Linked DNA regions of Homo sapiens: region 2 is linked to region 1. Evidence: promoter capture Hi-C in 16 types of primary human blood cells and fetal thymus (Javierre and others, 2016). All regions are on one chromosome and are shown on one strand. The core of a region is centred on a gene start or on the middle of the fragment in contact, and the rest is flanking DNA. Distances in the headings are between cores, read along the strand shown.

What was found. Contacts are between HindIII fragments. The CHiCAGO score rates a contact against its expected background, and 5 or more counts as called.
Region 2: a fragment that was not itself captured here is called in contact with the fragment with the promoter of TBPL1 in region 1 in 1 of 17 cell types (M0 macrophages); the score reaches 5.6 in M0 macrophages.

The regions. Positions count from the first base shown.
Region 1 is chr6:133,951,781-133,954,480 of GRCh38, reverse strand. It overlaps TBPL1 (TATA-box binding protein like 1), which reads right to left and starts at 1,257. Exons shown (of 7, transcript NM_004865.4): 1 at 1,056-1,257. LOC128092253 (umcharacterized LOC128092253) reads right to left here and starts at 1,177. Exons shown (of 2, transcript NM_001414965.1): 1 at 1,056-1,177. The coding sequence starts at 1,177. RefSeq lists a silencer at 2,150-2,259. The HindIII fragment of the contact is 10,274 bases long and covers 1-2,700 here.
Region 2 is chr6:134,956,890-134,959,589 of GRCh38, reverse strand. No RefSeq gene overlaps it. Among named protein-coding and RNA genes, the nearest start is that of ALDH8A1, 8.1 kb to the right of the region's middle. RefSeq lists a silencer at 2,173-2,373. The HindIII fragment of the contact is 417 bases long and covers 1,230-1,646 here.

The sequences.
Region 1 (2,700 bases), core at 8-2,507:
AATCCTTTCAACCAGATAGTGCTAACAGTCACTTCTCAATAGGAAGGAACTGCCATTTTCTCAAAGAGACTGCGAAATTATGCCAGGATGGCTGAACCTTCTTATGTCTCTTTTTATATTTTCCCAGAGAATCCACATTGCTTACACACACACACGCAAACCTGCTCCCTTTTCTTAAGTCACAGTTTTAAGGCACTGTTCTAAACCCTAAATACAGAAGCTCATGCACTTACTGCCAGTGTCGCTTTGGAACTGCAGGTGACAGATGCAGTCAGAGAGCTCACAGATGTGGATTGACTGCAGTTTGAGTCTTATTGCAATGAGCACATTGACAGAGCCTGCAGATGCACATCTCGGCAGGAGAGATTTTCTTTTTAAGCCCTCATGCCCTATTAGATTTACTTTTAGGGCTTTTATTGGCTATTTTTATCACTTATCCCGACTCTCATCCCTGCTTAGCCCTACCCACAATTCATTTTCTCTTCTTCAGTTCTAGATCCTTCTCCATCAATCCTAATTTTGGTCAAAAATAATAATAAAATAAAGCGAGGCTGCCGGCATTGCCAGAATCAGAAACCGACGAAGCCGCTTTTTGGGAGCTATTAGAGAAGCCGCTGTAAGTTTTCTGAGAAGCAACGGACCCCTAGCATCTTTGCACGGTCCCTCTTCCCCTGGGTGATGGCTCCGAGACAGATGAGGAATCTCTTTTCCCCGTCTTTCCCAGTGGTGGCTTAAACGAAAGATAACCCTTCTTTTCTTATCCTACACCAGGCTCGGTAACGCTCCCAGGTACGGACGCCCCACCCCCAACCCGTTATCCCTAAAGAGATCCCCAAATATCGCCCGGTCCTCTTCAGAACTGAGCCCTCCCTCGGCCACCGGACCGGTTTCCCCCACCTCAGCGGCTGCCCTCCAGTCGCCCGCCCCCACACATCCCACCCCAAGTCTGGCCCGGGCTCCGCACATGCCCACCCCGCGCCCAGACGCCCCGCACCCGGTGCTCAGGCCGCTCAGCCGCCCGCGCTCCCTGTGCCCAGGGTCGCCTAGGGGGTTACCGTGGGAAGAGGGAGCGGTGGCTGAGGACGCGGCGGCAGCGCTGCTGCCGGTTGCGTCGGATGCGAAGGAGAAGCTGGAGGACAAGGATGAGGATGAGACGGGCGCGCTCCCCAGTCTCCATGGAACTCCCGCCCCGGCCCGTTGCTAGGAGCCCCCGAGGCTCGGACTCCGTCTTCCTTGCTTTGTTGTTCCGGGTGCGAGGCGGCCGCAGCTTCCCCGCGACAATAAATAGACTAGACGCTGGGGAGCATAGAGACAGTGCGCGAGGGCTAGAGCGCCGCCGGACAGGGCGCTCCTGGGTGCCTCGCTAGCCACTCATTTCCGGCTCTCACTGCTCCCGTCACTTTCCCCGTCCCCCGCCCCCACCCTTCCTTCCTCCTTCCTGGTCCCCAAATCAGGCCCCTCCTGCCCACCCGCTGGGCTCGGTGGGAGGTAAGAGGTGGGATGGGGGCGGCGCTAATGGGCATCGGACTAGACTTTTTTGTTTAAGAACCGCTTGAAAGGGTTCTGAAAACACCGTGTATCCTTTGTATATTTTTAGTTGATATCTAAACGTGTAGTAATTTCTGGCATACAGTCGAATATTTAGGTGGACTTTTTTGTCAAAACCGTAGAACTTTCTCATCAGCTCATTAAATTTATACAAAAGGTCCTCCCCACCCCCCATTATATAATTGCTAAAGCTAGTCCTTACCGTCCAGACGAGACTTGTTTTCTGCCTGAAAAAAGTCCTTCGCTTTTTCAGTCAAAATGAACCCGTTAATTTATGATGTCGCGATAAATTCCCCTAGTGAGATTCCTCACTAGGCGAATTGGAATCCTGGTCTTAGAGCGACCGGGGATGACAGATGACAGACGGAGGGAAGGAAGTGGGGAGAGATGGAGACACAAGGTGTGGCGAGACGGAGGGATAACGCAGGACCGTATGCCACTTCTGTCGCCTGTCCCACATTCCTTACTCTACGTGGGTTTGCGGTCGGGACTGTCCCTCGGGAACCGAGAGGCGGATCCAGGAAGGATGGGAGTGGGAGAGGGCGGATGCTGGCGAGGACTCAGGCAGCCCGGGATAGGAGGACCTCTAGGAACGGAGACCCTCCGCGGCTCTGCGCCCAAGTAGCCCTGCAGGGGCCGGGGGACCCCGGGGGCGCACAATGGCCCGTTTGAACCGTCGCCCTGGGGCCCGAGTGCGTCCTCGGGGTCCCTCGGGAGTGGCCTGAGAGGCGCTGCCCGCGGGAGCGAAAATCGCGTAACGGCCCTGAGGGCGCCACGCCACGCCACGCCACGCCACGCCGCGCGGAAGCCCCCGGCTCCCGGCCCCACGTTTCCCACTCTCAGGCCGGCATCGGCCTTTCCACCAGAGCTCGGCTGCAGTCAGAAGCCCCTGGCGTTAGTTGAGGTCAATGGCAGCCCTGATTTAATTATTAAAAGACCACGCCGAGCCGGGTTCATGGGTACCTGGCCTCTGATTGGTGGGAATCAGATGAAAAAAATGAAAATGCCACTGCCTTTTTAAAAGAGAAGACGTGGGCTGAATTCTTGGGGTTTTGACAGTAGGCAACCATTTAGGTATTTTATTATTTACGAGATCTCCAAGGATGCCTCTTGATTTTTTGCTTTCCCCTCTGAGTGTTCAGAAACATATTC
Region 2 (2,700 bases), core at 189-2,688, 1.0 Mb before region 1:
AGAAGGTCTGTGCCATTCATAAGAGGGCTTAGTTATCCATGGAATCTTGAGAAAGGTTCACAGCAACAAATGCTACTCATTCAAAGCCTTGTCTCTCAGTCTGTTCGAGCTGCTATAGCAAAATACCCTAAACTGGGTAATTTATAATAACAGCCATTTATGTCTTAACGTTCTAGAGGCTGGGAAGTCCAAGATCAAGACACCAACACATGTGGTGTCTGGTGAAGGCTGTCTGCCTCAAACATGACATCTCTTGCTGTGTCCTCACATGGCAGAAGGGACAAACACCGTGTTCACATGAGGCAGAAGAGCTGAAGGCAGAAACTTGCTCCCTCAAGTGCTTTTATAAGGACACTAATCTCATGCAGGAGGATGGAGCCCTCATGGCCCAATTTTGTAATTAAAAGGTCTCAACTCTTAATACTGTTATATTGGGAATTAAATTTCATCATGAATTTTGCAAGGACATAAATATTCAAATGATTGCACTCTGTCCAGAAAGGAAAGACTCCCTGGCTCCCTTGGCCAGGCCAGGCCCAATCAGAGGATAAATACATAACTCTGAGATAGATTCAAATACTGTTGAATTTTGATTGTCTAATGTCTCTTCTGGTTCCTTGTTGGTCCTTTAACTTTTACTGAGCTGCATAAGTTCTGCTGAAGGTAAGAATAAATGTGCTGAAGTTTGATTATTTGGCAATTCAAGTAGTTTAATTAGAGGAAGGGAATGTGCCAGGAATGAGGACACAAGAATCTGTGGGTTTTCTGATATACTTCTCATAGTACATAAATAAATTGGAATTTGAATGTTAAATATCAACCTCTTGAGTTTAGTTAAATGAGTCTATTCTCAGTATATTGACAAATTCAGATCCCAAAGCCTATAAGCCAGATATCGAACCATGGTAATTTCAGCAAAATACTGTTGATGCCCCAGAGAGCCTCCTGCGTGACAGCATACTGACATTTTCATCTGAGGAGTTTTACCTGTGGCTAGGCTTATTTCCTTAAACACCTTCTAAAATGTTCATTTACAAAAATTGAGTATTCTTAGTGATGAAGAAAACCCCAGGTTATCAAAAGCATAATACTCAAAAGTTCTATATATTAAAATGAGTTTTTAGAAATACCTTAGTCATAGGACATATAAAAGACACTCTTCTAAATAACCTAATGAAGAAAATTTAAGATTATTTTCAAAAATGAAAATGAGACTACTTATTAAAGCTTCAGATAGCTTTATACTCATGATGGTTTTCTCTTTGTTTTGGCTGCCAGGAAGCTGACAGCCAAATTTGAGGCCCCAAACTGTACAGGATCTTAGGCATTTTGTAAACTACCCGTATCCCTGGCTTTATCTTGTTTGCAAGCACTTATTTTTCATTCTTCCTAATATTTTCTCCCCCACAACCTATTATAATGTATGTATTTTTATTTCTGTAAGTCATCTGAAATCATTTGTGGAATACAAAGTAATAGAAATAAATCAGCAAAGTAAAGATTTTTTAAAATGTGTGTAATACATATACCTATGTATTACATGTGTATACAACAAATATATTTTACATATATGCATGTGTATATGTGTATATATTTGTATGTAATGGAAAGAAATCAGTATATCCTTAAATTTTTTACTATAAGCTTATGGAAAAACTAACTAAATAAACATTTAACTAAAAAACCTAGAAAAGAAACAGAATGACTGTCCTTAGGAAATATACCCATGAGTCCATACCAATATGAATAAATGATTGAATAAATAAAGGGAGGTTGAATAAATAAGATAGGGGAAATGAAGAGACAAATCTCCCTTTTAAAAGCATTTCAAATAATTTATGTAGATACTTTGTCTTCACGGAGGTAGAACGTAACACTCCACCCCTCATGTGTGGGGCTGAGCATAGTGACTTCCTTCCAAAGAGTACGGTATGGAAAAGCAGTGAAAAGAATTTTATAATGGAAAAACCTGACAAGTACTACTTCAGCCAAGTGATCAAGGTTAACATCGAGTGACGTCATGTTGATTATACATACTGATATATATCTATGTATAATAATGTGGTGAAGATGGCACTTTTTGATCTTCCTCCTAAAAACTCACAACACCACTCTAATCATGAGAAAAATATCAGGCAAATTTTAATAGAGGAGCATCCTACAAAATTCTTGACCAATACTCATTAAAACTGTGAAGGTCATCAAACATAAGAAAAATCTGAGAAACTCATTGCCATGAGGACCTAAGGAGACATAAGGAAATGTAATGTGTCATGAGTGGGATCCTGTACCAAAGACATTAAGTAAAAGCTAAGGAAACATCAATAAATTACGGAGTTTAGTTAAGAATGTATCACTACTGGCTCCTTAACTGTGGCAAATGTACTATTCTAGTATAAGATGTTCATATTGGGGGGAAACTGGCTGCAGTATTTCTATAAATATAAAACTGTTCTAAATGATAAAGTCTTTAAATTTTTGTTATATAGTATTTAATACAAGCAAAAGAACATTTGTAATTAATATGTAGATTAAAAACAAGAAAACCCCATAAACTGTTCCCTCTACTAATGATTAAAACATTAGCAATAAGTGCCATTGAAGCTATCCTAATCTATCATAGCCTTTTCCCAGCCCTGACTGGGGATTTTAACATTTCCCTTCTTTAAAAAAAAATTTTTGTAAATTGTTTATGTGGTA